Regions from separate parts of the Homo sapiens genome. Here all the other regions are linked to region 1. Evidence: promoter capture Hi-C in 16 types of primary human blood cells and fetal thymus (Javierre and others, 2016). All regions are on one chromosome and are shown on one strand. Each heading gives the region's core, a stretch centred on a gene start or on the middle of the fragment in contact. The rest is flanking DNA. Distances are from core to core; before and after follow the strand shown.

Evidence for each region. Contacts are between HindIII fragments. The CHiCAGO score rates a contact against its expected background, and 5 or more counts as called.
Region 2: a fragment that was not itself captured here is called in contact with the fragment with the promoter of OR4L1 in region 1 in 3 of 17 cell types (M2 macrophages, M1 macrophages and neutrophils); the score reaches 6.7 in M2 macrophages.
Region 3: a contact is called between a fragment that was not itself captured here and the fragment with the promoter of OR4L1 in region 1, in 5 of 17 cell types (total CD4 T cells, naive CD4 T cells, naive CD8 T cells and 2 more). The highest score is 7.3, in total CD4 T cells.
Region 4: a contact is called between a fragment that was not itself captured here and the fragment with the promoter of OR4L1 in region 1, in 1 of 17 cell types (neutrophils). The highest score is 8.9, in neutrophils.
Region 5: a fragment that was not itself captured here is called in contact with the fragment with the promoter of OR4L1 in region 1 in 2 of 17 cell types (M2 macrophages and M1 macrophages); the score reaches 8.8 in M2 macrophages.
Region 6: a contact is called between a fragment that was not itself captured here and the fragment with the promoter of OR4L1 in region 1, in 10 of 17 cell types (M2 macrophages, M1 macrophages, naive CD4 T cells and 7 more). The highest score is 11.0, in M2 macrophages.

What each region holds. Positions count from the first base shown.
Region 1 is chr14:20,058,578-20,061,477 of GRCh38, reverse strand. It overlaps OR4L1 (olfactory receptor family 4 subfamily L member 1), which reads right to left and starts at 1,433. Exons shown (of 1, transcript NM_001004717.1): 1 at 495-1,433. The coding sequence starts at 1,433. The coding sequence ends at 495. The HindIII fragment of the contact is 2,043 bases long and covers 878-2,900 here.
Region 2 is chr14:20,173,504-20,176,403 of GRCh38, reverse strand. It overlaps the pseudogene GTF2IP22. Among named protein-coding and RNA genes, the nearest start is that of OR11G2, 16 kb to the left of the region's middle. The HindIII fragment of the contact is 2,490 bases long and covers 112-2,601 here.
Region 3 is chr14:19,949,361-19,952,260 of GRCh38, reverse strand. No RefSeq gene overlaps it. Among named protein-coding and RNA genes, the nearest start is that of OR4K1, 20 kb to the right of the region's middle. The HindIII fragment of the contact is 1,119 bases long and covers 991-2,109 here.
Region 4 is chr14:19,966,611-19,969,510 of GRCh38, reverse strand. No RefSeq gene overlaps it. Among named protein-coding and RNA genes, the nearest start is that of OR4K15, 7.5 kb to the left of the region's middle. The HindIII fragment of the contact is 6,542 bases long and covers 1-2,900 here.
Region 5 is chr14:20,155,242-20,158,141 of GRCh38, reverse strand. No RefSeq gene overlaps it. Among named protein-coding and RNA genes, the nearest start is that of OR4N5, 18 kb to the right of the region's middle. The HindIII fragment of the contact is 2,743 bases long and covers 120-2,862 here.
Region 6 is chr14:20,136,360-20,139,259 of GRCh38, reverse strand. It overlaps OR4N5 (olfactory receptor family 4 subfamily N member 5), which reads right to left and starts at 440. Exons shown (of 3, transcript NM_001004724.2): 1 at 370-440. The HindIII fragment of the contact is 3,856 bases long and covers 1-2,900 here.

The DNA.
Region 1 (2,900 bases), core at 184-2,683:
TCTCTGGCATCTTATAGTCACTGTGCTGTTGAATTTGTGGACTCATTCTTACTTTTTGCCTCCATTGATTCAAGAAACTAGAATTGCTTTTTCTGTTAACATTATTTAATTCATGACTTGTTCATGATACCTCATTTAATAATAGTATAAATTTATGAATAACATTATCAATATATATTAAAATAACCTCTAATAATATTCATATCTTCATGTATTCATTTACAGTTGTTTCTTTATTAATGAATATATTGAATGTATATGATAAAAATCCTCAATAATCTTTTTATGTTTATTTATGTCTATTTTTATGTCTATTTTGCTGCAGATCTCTATCCTTATGTTTATAAAAGTCTTAAATGTAAAATTTAAAGTAATTTAGTATTGTCTTTATGCGTTATTATTATAACATAAGAAAAGTGAAATGATGCATTATACATAATCTATTCAAACTATCTTATCGTAGCATTTAAAAGTTAATTATATAGTGCTAACATCTAGAAATTCTGTGCAGAACTAACATATTGGAACCGTAATTTTCTTATGGCCTCTTGCATTTTCTTATTTCTCAGGGTATAAATACTCGGATTCAGTAAGGGTGTGATAACTGTATAAAATACGGCAAGAGTTTTATTGCTTGCCAAACTACTGAATGGCCAAACATAGATAAAAATACAAGGTCCAAAGAACAGAGTGACCACAATGATGTGGGCAGACAATGTGGACAGCGCCTTGGAGAGCCCATGTGATGATTTTTTTGGTACACTGACCAGGATGACAATGTAAGAAACAAGCAAGAGGATGAAACAGGTGAAAGAGAGCAGCCCGCTGTCAGCAATGACAAATAATTCCAGGGTGTATGTTTCAATGCAAGCAAGCTTGATCACAAGGGGAAGATCACAAAATATGTTGTTTATGACATTGTGGCCACAGAAAGGCAAGTTCATTGTTAAAACTATCTGGCTTATGGAGTGTAAAAAACCAATTATCCATGAAAGTATCGCAAACCCCTTTAGCAGCTTGTGGCTCATGATTGTCCTATAGTGCAGGGGTTTACATATGGCTACATACCTGTCAAAGGCCATGATTATCAGAAGAGTCATCTCAGCACCCCCAAAGAAGTGCATGAAGAACATCTGGGTCACGCAGCCCCACACAGAGATGGTCTTGTGGTCAGTGAGCAAATCTATGATCATCTTGGGTGTTGTGGCAGTGGAGAGACACATGTCCAAAAAAGAGAGATTTCCAAGGAGAAAGTACAAGGGAGAATGAAGGGTTGACCTACATGTCACTGTGACCATAATGAGAATGTTTCCCATCACAGTAGCACCGTAGATCAGGGAAAATGTCACAAAGAAGAAAATTTGAAGTTCCCATCGTCCAAAAAATCCTAGTAAAATAAACTCGGTCACTAGAGATCCATTTTTAAGATCCATTTACTCAACTCAGAAAGGTTCCAGAAGTTCTTTATATACAAAGAGAATTAAAAAATAAGTCACAGTTAACACCAATATTTTCTTATTTCTATTAGTTGGTGATAATAGTTGATGATATGAGATCATATAATTTTAAATATATCAACACAGAGATTAGCTTAAATATTATATCACTTTGAAACAATTACTCTGCAGTAATTACAAATCATTTGAAGAAGTAGAAGTTCCATTTTCTATTGTTTATTCCATAAAATCATACTCTTATCAATGGATCTTGACTTTCTTACTCATTTGTTCACATATAAAGATTAGATACTAATTAATTACTTTTTATTTTGCCTTTTATTATTATAGTATTCTGTACCTGCACTTCTTGAGATTATGTTATCCCAATATATAAGGAATACAAGATTTAGAAAATGAAGAATTACATTGTTCTACATCTCTGAAGTAATTTATGAAGGTTTTTCTATGGTTCTAAACTAAATAAGCAAACAAACAAACAAAAAGCACACACACACACACACACAAATCAGGAGCAAATTATACATGGATGAAAGTATATAAATTTATTTAAAATAATTTTTCTTTTTAATATACATGTATACCTCTTTTATTGTGTTTCACTTTATTGTCCTTTGCAGTTATTTAATGTTTTATAAACTGAGGGTTTGTGACAACCCTGGATCCAGCAAGTCTATTGGCACCATTTTTCCAACAGCATGTGCTCACTTTATGTCTCTGTGTCACATTTTGGTAATTCCCAAAATATTTATTTCAAACTTTATTATTATTATTACACGTTATTTGATCTGTGACCAGTAATCTTTTATGTTACTATTTTCATTATTTTTGGGCACCACAAGCCGTGCCCATGTAGAATGGCAGACAATTGATAAATGTTGTTTCTAACGGCTCCACCAACCTACTCTTCCCTCATCTCTCTCCTTCTCTTCAGGCCTCTCTATTCTTTGAGATACAACAATATTGGATTTAGGCCAATTAATAGCTTTGCAATAGCCTCTAAGTGTTCAAGTAAAAGGAAAAGTTGCATGTCTTTTATTTGAAATAAACTAAGAAAAAACTGGAGACAGTTAAACGTTCAGTGGTTTCCAGGGGTTTGAATGAAGAAGGAGAAATGAAGAAATAAGAGAAGTACGGAGAATTTGCAGGGTATTGAAACAATTCTTATCTACTATACTTAGAAATACATAACACATTTGTCAAAACCCATAGCATGTATAACATCAAGAGTAAATCCTAATGTAAACTACAAATTTGGGGAGATAATAATGTGCAATGTAGGCTCACCAGCGGTAACGAATGTACCACTCTGGTTCAGGTTGTTAAGGGTGGGGGAGACTGTATGTGGCATCAGAGGGCACACGGGAACTCTTGTACTTCCTGCTCAATTTTGCTGTGAACTTAAAACTGCCCCAAACAATAAAGTCTGTAAAAAAGTTTTTT
Region 2 (2,900 bases), core at 107-2,606, 120 kb before region 1:
CCTGAGCATCAAATTTCAAATAGAATTTTGTCACTGGCTTGAAGTCAATTTGAGAAGTTACTTCACCAGAGGTGATTAGGCATTAGCACAGTGCTTTGTACTTAGAAAGCTTTCAATAAATACCCATAAAATGAATGAATAAATACACTTTCTTATTTCCCAGAAAGGGATCACATCCACACAATAATTTTGGGCAAGGCTGACTCAGATTGTGTGTCTGTGGAACAAAGGACCCTTGGATCTATTTGAAATCACTTTTCTCTTTTGAGATAGTGAACTAACTCATTAATTCATGCTATTTGGTAATGCAATTTACCAATTTCAGGAGTAAAATGTTCAAATTAATAGTAGGTAGCTGCTTCTCACTTCTGTTAAAAGAGTTCCCCAGCCATCAAGGGTAGATGGAGCTGAGGAATAGAATCAGGTTTAATTTTGTCTTGTTGAAACAGGTCTTTGATTTTCTGGATTGGGAATATGAGTCTGCAAAATCCATTGGTTACCATTCTAGTTACATAAACAGTGGAACCTGATATTAGCGATCCAATGTTAAGATAGGTTTAGCAGGAAACTTGAAGAGAAGAAAAAAACTTTACATTTTTTTGCGTCCTTTCCCAATCACTGTTTGGAAACACCTCAAGGCAGAATGACTTTGGGTGGCTATACTTTTGCAGAATGGCTTTATGTTCTTTTGAGCTAACAGTCTTAACCAGACTGTATTGTTACTTACCTTTTATTACTCATCTCTTCTGTGCAGAAGAAACTATGATGTTTACCTGCCAGAAATCCCGGCTGGATTGAAAAAAAAAAGAAAAAGAAAAGAAAGTAAAAAAACAAAACAAAAGAAAAAGAAAAAATCTAGCTGATTCACCCTGCATTGGCTGTAGAGGGCAATGTGAACACGGGCACAACACTGTGTTTTTGTACCCAGGCTGCTTGGACCAAGTTAATTAACAACAAAAACTACTTAAAAAAATCTGTTTACTCATTAAATTAGTCAACCCCAGAAAGTGGGGTGAAGATAGACTATGACTGAATGAGCCAAGCTGTGTCACATGCAGTGTGATAAGAAGGCATTTCCCTGATACTTTAATGTTCCCCCAAAGTTCAGTACAGTAGAAGTCTGGACACCCAACTTGGTTGACCCCCCTCCTCAGCCAGCCCAGAGATGTCTCATGACAACACGCTTGCCTCCTCTTTTTTGTTTGCGCAGGTTCAGTGAGGGGGCTGCCACGTCTGTAATGTTGGGCAATCTGTTTCTAGAAAGTACTTTAAAAAGTAAGGATAAGATAATTTTCCAGATTGGGACAAGTGGTAGGCAGCTATACAAGATAGAAAAAGTCCTGGATTTAGAGTCAAGAGTTTTCTTTACTAGTCATAGGAAATTAATACTTTCTTAGTTTCCTTAACTATAAAATGGTCATAATTATGCCTTAAGGGCCGTTGCAAAGATTACTGTATGAAATGGAGTACCTTGACCAGTGCCTGATCAGTAAGAGCTTAAGAAATACTGGTTGTGAATAGTGCCGCAATAAACATACGTGTGCGTGTGTCTTTATAGCAGCATGATTTATAATCCTTTGGGTATATACTCAATAATGGGATGGCTGGGTCAAATGGTATTTCTAGTTCTAGATCCCTGAGGAATCACCACACTGACTTCCACAATGGTTGAACTAGTTTACAGTCCCACCAACAGTGTAAAAGTGTTCCTCTTTCTCCACATCCTCTCCAGCACCTGTTGTTTCCTGACTTTTTAATGATCGCCATTCTAACTGGTGTGAGATGGTATCTCACTGTGGTTTTGATTTGCATTTCTCTGATGGCCAGTGATGATGAGCATTTTTTCATGTGTCTTTTGGCTGCATAAATGTTTACTGTGGCACTATTCACAATAGCAAAGACTTGGAACCAACCCAAATGTCCAATAATGATAGACTGGATTAAGAAAATGTGGCACATATACACCATGGAATACTATGCAGCCATAAAAAATGATGAGTCCATGTCCTTTGTAGAGACATGGATGTAGCTGGAAACCATCATTCTCAGCAAACTATTGCAAGGACAAAAAACCAAACACCACATGTTCTCACTCATAGGTGGGAATTGAACAATGAGAACACATGAACACAGGAAGGGGAACATCACACTCTGGGGACTGTTGTGGGGTGGGGGGAAGGGGGAGGGATAGCATTAGGAGATATACCTAATGCTAAATGATGAGTTAATGGGTGCAGCACACCAACATGGCACATGTATACTTATGTAACAAACCTGCACGTTGTGCACATGTACCCTAAAACTTAAAGTATAATTAAAAAAAAGACAATAATGCAAGAAATCAGACATTTTTCTCTCCTTTTGTGTAGTTTTTAAAGTCATATATTTAATATACTTTTCATTGTGGCCCTTTGGATTGGTGTCAGGTTTAGAACTTCTTACATGTGAATAGGGTGCTGTAGTATTAAGTCATTTTAAAATCACATATTACAAAAGACCATGTATGCCTTTATTAAGCCACAATAAGGTAGTGATGATTTTGCTTTTTAATCTTACAATTTAATGACATTTATCTGCTTTTCACCTCCCCCAGGGAAAGCTTTACAAAAACCCACAGAGGTACCTGTACCATATGAGAAGATGCTACAAGACCAGTCAGCTTTGATAGTACAGGGGCTTCCAGAAGGTGTTGCTTTAAACACCCTGAGAATTATGATCTTGCAACCCTGAAATGGATTTTGGAGAACATAGCCGGGGTTTCAGTTATTATTAAGTGGTGAGCTGTTTTCTCCCTTCATGCCCATCGATGGTTTATTCATATAAATTTGAATATTCAGCTTATGTTAATATATTTTAAAAATTCTCGGTTAGCGCAATTCATTTAAATTTATGCTGTCATT
Region 3 (2,900 bases), core at 301-2,800, 110 kb after region 1:
TTTCTGGACTCAGAAATTAATTTGAGCAAGGAGCTTTAACTAAAAGCATTCTGGTCAAACAGGAAGGAAGAAGCAAAGGTTATAAGGCAAGAGGTCAAATTGTAGAATCTTCTGTGGCTCAAACTCTAGATTGCACAGCCCAGATTAACAAATAGGTACATGTAAAGGTCTTAGTGGTACAGATGTCAGACATGAAAAGAATCAATCAAAGTTGTAGAAGAGAAAGAAGATAGTTTGGTAATGAAGATAATCATTTATGGGAAGAAACCGGCTTCTTACTATGTAGATAATTAAGTTGAATAAAGGCTTTTGGGTATGACGAGATTGATTTAGTTATCTTACAGTGATATGTGACCAATAATTACCTTATTATCCTTACAATGCTATAAAGTAAATATTACTATAATCCTAACTTTGTGTTAGAAGCAGCTACAATTTAGTGCTAAAGTTAGTGTCACAAGGCACACTGGTAGTCTGAAGATTTGAATGTGCAAAGAACATATGTTTAACTGCTACATATTGCTCAATTAAGGATCTGATTACTGAAAACATCTATCTAAGGATGTCTACCTGGTCACTAAAATAATTTATCAGTATTATTATTATTTTAAGAGACAGGGTCTTGCGCTGTCACTCAGGCTGTAGTGCAACTATGTGATCATGGCTCACGGCAGCCTGGACCTCCTGGCCTCAAGTGATCCTCCCACCTCTAAGATAACAAAGTAGTGCCCAATTATATTCTCTGCTCTTTCTGAACTATACATCAACATGCTCACTTTTATCTTGCTACTTCAATCCCATGCTTGTGTTAGCAGTGACAATAATCAGTCAAAACAGCAATAATTCGCTGTTTTGTTTTATATTAGGCTCTCACGCCCAAACCCCAAGTCCTCATGCTCAAAAACACAGGTTGCCTTGACTGTGGTAATAACTTTAGCCCAGAATCCCTTTATCTCTCTGAATGGCAACATGTACAGTTGCTTTTAAGCTTGATGCGATTAAATTCCACATACCAATTTTGAGATAAATCTCAGGAAAGTAACAACAGGGTGAAGAGAAGATGCTTCCAAAACTTTTTAAAAAATAATTTTAAAAAGAGAATCACAGGAGCCTATAAAGGAACTATTTAAATATCATGACACTCCCAAAAGTCTCAGATAACCAATCCCATGAATTGCGAAAGCCAATTAAAAAATGAACTTTGTTAAGTGAATTCATCTTGCTATGGGAGTTATTAACAATATTTTGGTTGCTTCTCCCCCATATCAAGATGGTAAGAACTTTTAAATTGTTTGCCTATAATTGCAAATGAGAACATATGTCATGAGAGAGAAATGTAGTGACCTCAAAGTTTGCAACAACTATATTTGCCCTCATTTAATGTTCTGCCTCTATCCATGTGCTTTCTTTGTCCTTATCTAAAGTGACTGTGCCAGTAAGCACTAGCACACATGCACAGGGCCTAAAGAAAATTAGATCCAAAGAAATATAAATCTGGCAATGGGTCTAAGAAAATTAGAATTTTGCTTTCTCTAATCTTATATTTCTTCCTTTTCTTGAAAATTTTTATGTCAAAGGTTTTCAAATTCCATACCACACAATATTTTGCCAAAATTATCCAATATTTTAATTATCACTACACAGTACTTGACCATATAACAGAATCAGAAAAGAATCTTAGACATAAGTGGGTAAAACTGCCCAGATATAAAAATAGCTTGCTTTTGGATATTGTGGAAACATATCCCATTAGAGCTGTAGAAGGACTTAGGAAATCTACAGAGAAGAGCAGGGGACAAAGACAAAAGTAAATGTTGTGACACAGAGTGAGTGCCCAGGAAGTTTGATGAGCTTAATTGAGGAGAGGAGCCCAGTCATCAGCCCAGACTGATAGATCACGTTTCTTCTTCACATCTTCTCTTTAATTTTCACAGTCATTTCAATTCTTCTGTTTCCAAATCTAGTCCTCCTTTAGTCTCCCTTAACCCAGGTAATGGCATTTCTATTGCCCCAGTGGTTTCAGCCAGAAACTTCACTTCTTCTATTTTCTCACTCCCACTTCCAGTCCTGCTGTACCTTTCTCTAAAATATGCCCAATCCATCAAAGCTTTCTATTACAATTTCCCTTGTCTAAACCATCCCTTTCTTTCTCCTTAAATGTTTCAAAGGCCTTCTAATAATCTCCAACTCTCTGCACTGATTTTTTTTTCCAGTCAATTTCTCCTGAATGCTCAGAGCAGTCTTTAAAAATAAGATAAATCTTTAAAAATAAGATAAATAAGTCAAACAACTTTAAAATGATAAACATGCAGTCATTCCTCTGTATATGTGGGTTCTGTGTCTATGGATTCAATCAATCACGGATCAAAAGTATTTAGAAAAAAACAATTCCACAGATCTTCAAAATCAAAACTGAAATTTGCAACACATCAAGTACTACATTGAATTCACTTAAAAGAAGTGATATGTAGACATCGTATTAGATATTATAAGTAATTTAGAGATGATTTAAAAGTATACGGGAGAATGTGCATAGGTTATATGCAAATGCTACACCACTTTATACAAGGGACTGAAGCATCCATGGGTTTTGGTATCTGCGGGGGTCTTGGAACCAATTCCCCGTAGACACCAAGGGACCATCATAGTCCCCATTGCTCTAGAAATATAATCCAATATCCATAATGAGCCCTTCCTATCCTGTATTTTACATATTAACCTTCAGCTTCATTTCGTCTCACTCATTGGTCATTCACTAAATTCCTGCTTTCATTTTCTGGAACACACAATCCCTTTCCACTTTAGGGAGTTTCCATTTCTCTTTTGTCTGCTTGAATATTGTTTCTTTTGGCTCTTCTATTGTATATCCTTCCCACAGAAACTAAATAGAAGGTTATTCA
Region 4 (2,900 bases), core at 165-2,664, 92 kb after region 1:
GGTGCAAAAAGATTAGGATTGGTATGTATTCATGATTGATTAAGCCCGTTATCATATGACATGCTTCTCTTTACTTTTGATTATATTTTTTCTTCTGAAATCTACAGAGTCAGATATTGATATGACTGCTTTAGCTCCTTTATAATTACTATTTGCATTGTATTGTATATCTTTGTTCATCTTTTTATGTTTAAGTAGTCTGTGTCTTTATATTTAAAGTGGATTCAAGGTAGGCAGCAAATAGTTGGCTGTTGCTTGTATTGTTCATTCTAGCAATGTCTGCCTTTTAGTAGACTTCTTATACTATTTACATATAATGTAAATGATATGTTGGGTTTATGTCTACTACCTTGCTACTTTTTTTTAATTTGGGACTTCCTTTACTTTCCATTTTTGTAGTAGAATTATATCAACCATGATATGTCTTGCTTTTGTTTGACTTACAAAGTCTTCATTTCACTTTCATTTTGAAGGATATTTTTCATACTTAAATGATTGTGTGGACTCTGTTGTTTTCATTCTGTTTTTTTTTTAACAATTCTAATCCTGTTTTATAATAAGTACTCAGTTATCCAAATCCTGGTTTTTCAGTATATGGTTGTTCTTTTATCCATGGCTACCGTAAGATATTTTCTGTATGACAAGTTTCCCATATGAATTGTGATATGTCTTCTTGTGATTTTCTTTTGATTTATCTCGCTTGAGGTTGGTAGAACTTCTTGACTTTTTTTATTATAACTTTCAATCAAATTCAGAACATTTTGTTCCCCATTTTATCCTTTCCTCTGGAACTCCAGTTACATACGTGTTAGGCCAGTTGGCATTCTCTTGCATATTGCTGTGACACTGTTCAGTTTTTCCTTTCACATTTTTGTCTCTGTACTTTGGTTTAGAGATTTTCTATTGCTGTGTCTTCTAGTTTACTGATAATTTCCTTTGTGGTGTCTAACATTTTTCACCTCATGAAATCTTGATGTTGTTAATATATTCCATTCCTCTCTTCATTCTGTTTATATTTTTTATTTATATACTTGAGCATACTTATGACAGCTCTCTTAAAGTTATTTTATTCTAATTTCCACATCTTGGTAATTTCTGAGCTTATTTGAATCAGTTTCCAATTCTACTCATTATGATGTATATTTTTATGCTTTATTACATTTATTAATGGACACTAAAAATATTTCTGAGTGCTGGATTCTTTCTTTTCCTATTCAAAAGTAGTAGTCTTCGTTCAGTCGCAAAGTTACTTGTGGGCTAGGCTAATTATGTCATTTTATTTTTAAATATTTTAGGATGGGTTTAGAGTAGGCTTCTCTAAGCTACTTTAGCCTTAGTATTAAGGAATTATCTGATATTTAAGGCATTGCCCAGGATCGACTAAGTTCTTGGGTTTATTTCATTTTATTTATTTATTGAGATGGAGTTTTCACTCTTGTTGCCCAGGCTGGAGTGCAATGGCGTGATCTCGGCTCACTGCAATCTTCGCCTCCCAGGTTCAACCCATTCTCCTGCTTCAGCCTCCCACGTAGCTGGGATTACAGGCAACTGCCACCAAGCCTGGCTAATTTTGTATTTTTAGTAGAGACGGGGTTTCTTTATGTTGGTCAGGCTGGTCTCAAACTCCCGATCTCAGGTGATCCACCCGCCTCGGCCTCCCAAAGTGCTAGGATTATAGGCATGAGCCACCGCGCTTTAGCCTTTGTGTACTCAGCTTACTATTCAGTAACAACTCAAGTGGGCCCCATAGAAACTTCTGGAGAGTTTTTTTCTATGTAATTTTTCTGTTGTTGTTGTTGTTGTCCTGGATGTAGATTTTGGCCATCGCCAACTCTCTGAACTCCATTTTCTGGATTCTAAGTGCCAACTCTCTGAACTCCGTTTTCTGGATTCTAACTCATGAAGTCAACTGTGCTCTGCTTTGAATTACCTTTGCTGCCCTGAGATGTGGAAAGTACCTCCATGGAGGAAAATGTGTTGATCATAATATTAATCTTATGTTTTATTCTCTCAAGGATCTTAGTCTTGTGTTGCATGTAGACTAATGCTTAAACACAATGTAGTGATATATTTTATCCAGTTTTCCTATTGATTATGAAGCGAAATTAAATCCAGTAGTACCTCATGGCTGGAAGTGGAAGTTCATACTGTTTTTTTAAATAAAAAATTCATGAATACTGTTTACTTCTCTTTTAAAATGATTTATAATTCATTTACCTGAAATTTATCCTTTTAAAGTGTACAATTCAGTAAATTTTATCATGTTAACAAGGTTATGCAGCTATCACCACTGTCTATCTCTGAAACATTTTCCACAACCCCAAAAGAAACCCCATAACCATTAGCATTTACTTCCCATTCTCCCTAAATGCAGCCCTTGGATACCATTAAACTATTTTCTGACTCTTTGGAATTGTCTATTCGGGACATTTCTAATAAGTGATATGACATAATAATAATGTGTCTGGCTTCCTTAACTTGGCATATTGTTTTTAAGTTTCATCCATGTTATGACATGTATCAATACTGTATTCCCTCTTATAGCTATGTAATATTCCATTGTAAGGATATAGAAATTTTGTTTATTCATTCATCAGTTGATGGGAATTTGGGTTGTTTCCAGTTTTGATTGTCAATAGTACTGCTGCTGTGAACACTTGTGTACAAGTTTTTGGATAAACATCTTATATCTCTGAAATGAAATAAAAACCTATGAACGCTGACTAGAATTGGAATTTCTGGGGCATATGTTTCACTTTTTGGGGAACTACCAAACAGATTTCCAGAGTGGCTACACCAATTTACATTCTTACAAGCAATAGATAAGCAATTTAATTTCTTGACAATTTTGACAGCATTTGTTATCTTCCATTTTTTAAATTACTTTCAGCTATCCTAAT
Region 5 (2,900 bases), core at 242-2,741, 97 kb before region 1:
AAGAATTGATCATCTTTGGGAGGTTACTGTTTGTTGGCAGTGAGATGCCTTAGTCCGAATTCCTTGGATGACAGAGGGGCTCCTCACAACCTCTTTCTAGTTCAAATTTGAGTGAAGCTTGGAGATACTGTCTTCCTACTACTACCTTAAGAAATTGTGTTTCCATATCAAATCAGCCCCAGGGTTTTGAAGGAGCTGTGATCCAGCAGATATAAAACTGGTCTGGATAAGTGATGCAGTAAAGTTTGCAGTGAAAGAGACTGCTGTAGTTTCCCTCCTGAACTTCCAGAGCTTTCTGGCAGAGATGACTGTTCTCTAATGTGACTGTCATTACCCATGGCTTGCTGTGGCAGAAACCCACATTTCTAGAAATGCTTTTACAAGGCCCATAAGTTGCAAAGGCAGCTGTGTTTAAGTAGCAGGAATCAATATTTTGAGACACTGACTAGCCCCATCACATTCTAACCTTGACTGCATATTCTAGAGGAAGCAAGAAATACACTGTGAGTACAAGTGACATTTCTCGTGACATCTAAATATCTTGCTTTCTGCTTTTAGCTCCCATGTCGCATCTCACTTGTCTTTATAAAATTGTATACTTTGAGTAAACTTGGTTTTGTAATTCATACATTAGCTATAGTCTTCAACAGACCTACATTCATATTCATGGAAATAACACTGATCTAGTGATAATTGGAGTCCACAGTCTAGAAATGTCACTCTAGTTAGTTAATATGAACCAAGAGATGTCATATGGATAGTCATGATCTTTATCCTTCTCTGAATTCTATGAACTTAAGGCAAACATGTGCACACAAAGTGGGGAACAGCAGACACTGGGGCCTACCAGAGGGTAGTAGTAGGGTGGGAGTAGGGAGAGGAGCAGGAAAAAATAACTATTGGATACTAGGCTTAGTACCTGGGTCACAACATTGTCTGTACAACAAATCCCCAAGTTTACCTGTATCACGAACCTGTGCATGTACCCCTGAACCTAAAATAAATTTTTTTTTTAAAAAAGGATCAGCATGATATTTGAAAAGAATGTTGAAATGAAGATGGCAGACTGATACTGGAACCAGCTTTATCTCCAATAGCTGCCTTATCTTTTCCTCTGGGTTCAGTTTCTTCATTGGTAAAATAAGGTGGTTGAGCTCCAACTCTCAGTGGTTTCTCAGGCCCAGTACTTAATGAATCTATTATTAATATATCTATCATCATTGTTTATGGATCCATTATTCTAGCCCCATTTCAGGGTTTTGTTATTTATTAGCTAATTTGATTTTAACTTTTATCAACTCAAATATAAATATGAGATACAGTGTATTTGACAAATTGCTGTCTAAAACTTTCTCTCTGAAGAATAGTTCACCTCTTTTTAAGTAGTGTTTTCTTTCTTATTACATATTATTTACTCTAGGTGCCTGCCACACTGTTTGCTCTCAAATGCTCATGTCACTTGGTCACCTTTTTGTACCTGCTCTCCTCTGAAAGTATCTTAGGCTCTAAAATGTTTTCAGTTGTCTGTCTTTCAAAAACTTTGTATAAGCATTCCTTTTTCTCCACAACCTTGCCAGCATCTGTTATTTTTTTACTTTTTAATAATAGCCATCTGACTGGTGAGAGATGGTATCTCATTGTGGTTTTGATTTGCATTTCTCTAATGATCAGTGAAGTTGAGTTTTTTTTTTCATATATTTGTTGGCCACATGTATGTCTTCTTTTGAAAAGTGTCTGTTCATGTCATTTGCCCAATTTTTAATGGGGTTATTTTTTTCTTGTAAGTTTGTTTATATTTCTTATAGATGTGGATATTAGACCTTTGTCAGATATAGTTTGTAAAAGTTTTCTCCAATTCTGTGGGTTGGCTGTTTACTCTCTTGATAGTTTCTTTTGCTGTGCAGAAGCTCTTTAGTTTTATTAGATCCCATTTGTCAATTTTTGCTTTTGGTGTCTTTGTCATGAAATATTTGTTCCCATGTCCTGAATGGTATTGCCTGGTTGTCTTACAGAGTTTTTATAGTTTTTGGTTTTACATTTGAGTCTTTAATACATCTTGAGTTAATTTTTGTATATGGTGTAAGGAAGAGGTCCAGTTTCAATCTTCTGCATATGGCTAGCAAGTTATCCCAGCACCATTTATTGATTAGGAATCCTTTCCCCATTACTTTTGTCAACTTCATCAAAGATGAGATTATTGTAGGTATGCAGCCATATTTCTGGGCTCTCTATTCTGTTCCATTGGTCTATGCATCCTTTTTTGTACCAGTGAAGTGTAAATTAGTGCAACCTTTATGGAAAACTGTGGCAATTCCTCAGAGACGTAAGAATAGAGCTACCATTTAACCCAGCAATCCCATTACTGGGTATACACCCAAAGGAATATAAATTGTTCCACCATAAAGGCACATGCACGCGTATGTTCATTGAAGCACTATTCACAATAGCAAAGACATAGATTCAACCTAAATGCCATCAATGGGAGACTGGATAAAGAAAATGTGGTACATATACTCCATGAAATACAATGCAGCCATAAAATAAAGAATGAGATCATATACTTTGCAGCAACCTGAATGGAGCTGGAGGCCATTATCCTAAGCAAACTAACACAGGAATAGAAAACCAATACTTATGAGTGGAAATATAAATACTCCTTTGCAGAAATATGGATGGAGCTGGAGGCTATTATCCTTAGCAAACTAATGCAGGAACAGAAAACTACATACCATATGTTCTCACTTGTAAGTGGCAGCTAAATGACACAGACATAGAGGGGAACAACAGACAATGGGGCTTATCAAAGGATGGAGGATGGGACGAGGGAGAGGATCATGAAAAATAAGTAATGGATTCTAAGCTTAATACCTGGATGATGAAATAATCAATATAACAAACCT
Region 6 (2,900 bases), core at 116-2,615, 78 kb before region 1:
CTCCCTTTACCTTTGGTTTAGGATAAAGATGAAATCAGTCATTTGTATTATATACAAATTGAAATCCAGGTGGTGAATCTTCATAATCAATTGGTATTTTTATTTTTAAAACAATAGTAGAATTAAAAATTTTAGCACCTTTAAAATAGTACTAAGTATTAGATAATAGGAGGTTTATTTGAGAAACAGGTATATTTGAGAAAAGTGCTGAACACCTGAATTTACAACTCACCCTTACTCTGTTTCTGCAGCAGAATTCTGTTCTCATAAATTTCAAGGCAGCAGATAACCAAGACAAATAGTATAATTTTTCTTTTTTTTTCTTTTTCTCTATTTAATTTAAATATAAAGAATGATAAAAAATTTTACCTTGCCGGGAGCCAAATGCTACTCTCAAACAAGTGGCTATTCTTTTCTGTCTGATAAAAGGGAGATTAGCTAATTATTTCAGAATTTGTGCTTAAATATATATTCTCATGTTGGAATATTATAAATTCTGAAATCTCTATTCATTTGTAATACAATTAATGCAATAGAGAATGTACTTTGGGGTTTTACCGCTACCTGAATTCTGCAGAGTTCTACCAATGGGAATTATTAGACTGCCAATTAGAATTAGACAAAGAAAGAGACAAGAACATTTTAAAGATTAAATATTCAAAACACATGCCAGTGAATACCCCATTGAATCATGTTAGGGTTTTGAATTTGGTATTTTATCAGTGGCAGTGATAATGGAATGTCCCATACACTTATTAGGCAAAATGATTAATGATTAATTCAATGTTAATAATGCTTCATTTAACTCAGTATATCTAAATTATTATCATTTCAAAGTTTGTCTTTAAATAAAAAGAACTTTATGCATCTTGTAGACCAGTTCCTCCAGGGGAGTGCCCCTCAAGTAAAAGAAGAAATACTCTATTGTATTATTGGTTTTTTTGAATATATGGTTCCTAAGCCCTGCTATAGGATAATGAGCTTTCTGGTTTTTAATGAAATAATATAACATAAAAATATCTAATCATACAAGAAAAAAATCAATGTAAGTTTTTTTTGTAACACATTATAAAGAAAGATGCCATTCCTCAGAGTCACATTAAAATTAAAATACCAAACTTAAATTTAATAAAGCAAATTCAATACACAGTCAAGTATGCTTTCATTCATGTTTATGCCCAGCTCAGCCAGAGATGCAGTCAGAGATGTTTAAAAGTGGACAGAGATGAAGAGAGGTAGATAACATTTTAGCAGGTTTCTTTCCTATTATGATCAGTGCTGCAACTTCTAACATATACCATTTTCCTTGGGTGAAAGCATAGCAGTATAATACAGTCCCAGAAAGATACAAAGTTAGAAATACAAGATAATTGCAAGAGAGAGAACAGAGGCAAAAAAGAGAAAAAGCATACACAAAAAAATAGGAGAAAAGATGGATAGAAAGAGAAACAATGCCCACAGAGATGCTTGTACCACAAAGCCGTAAACACAGGTTTAGAAAAAAAAAAAGACAGGATAAGAGAAGGGAATGGATGGAGAGAGAAAGATAGAGTGGTAAAGATATTTCTGAGAATGCAAATTATTTTGTTTTGTTTTTGTTTTTTATTTTTCACTTTAGTTTTGTTTTATGCAATTAAGGGACTTCCCAGGGATGTCACTTCTCAATATTGACAACAATGCTTTAGAATTAGTTAGAAGAAGATATTTTAACTGAGATATTAACTAGTGCAAAATAGACCTTTCCCCTCTGCTGAGAATGCTTTTTCATCTTAGGCAATTTTATACTATTAAAAAGAAAGATGTATGTTTGTGTGAATGTCTGTGTGTTTTAAAAGATGTATCTCAGAGTGGCCTGAACTAGCTTTCTAAACAAGGCATCCAAATGTGGTGAAACTAGCACAAGACTGGAGCTCAAAAGACAAGTTTGCAGTCCTGGTTCCAACCATGATGGTTCTGTTTTTTGAGAAAATGTCAAAAACTTCCTCCGATGTTTTGTCATCTAAAAAACTGAAAATATATTTCCTTACTTTACAAAAGGTTTTAGGTGTTTATCATTTGGAAAACTTATTACATAGGTAAGTGATTAGGCACTGGTTATTATATACAAGGTCCTCGGTCTCAGGGATTTGACATTCCAGTGGAGGGAGCCAGACAAAGAACAACAACAACAACAAAAAAGACAGTAAAATGTGGGAGAATGAAAGAATATAACAGAGGGATGTGTTGGAGGGTGAATGAGGGCGGGGGGTGGTGCTGTTATTTTAGATTGAGTAGTTAGAAAAGTTATCCCTGAGGAGCTGAAAGTTAAGCTGAGGTTTGAATGACTAGGGTAGGGCATTTCAGGCAATGTGAAGAACGAGAATGGAGACTGTGGAAGAGGATTGAGCTGGTACAGTAAGGCACAGAAAGGAGACCATCATGATGAGGAAATGGTGAGCATAAGAAGGAAAAGTATAAGGCAACATTAGAGAGGTAGGCAGATGTTATCCAGCTCATGGCATTTGGAGGTTATTCTCAGTGTGTAATTATAATGTCAACAATTGTAATCTTCAGGTCGTTCTGGCTATTGTGTGGAGAATGGGTTTGAGGGAGGCAAGTATAGGAGCAAGGAGAACAGTTTGAAGATGTTGCAGTACCAAGTACAAAAGATGATGTTGGTAACTTTGCCTGGTGGAGAGTGGGAGGAGGAGACCGTAGTAAGAAGAATTCAGAGAACTTGACATGTATTTTGATGGTGGAGACATTTAGACTTGCTGATAGACACGATGTCTTAAAAACTCCTAAGATTTTAGATGAAATAGCTATGTATGGAAGTGTAATTTATTAACATTATGAAGACCCAAACAAGATAAGGTGGTGATTGGAAAAAAACTATGCTTTTTTAAAGGTACATTTAATTT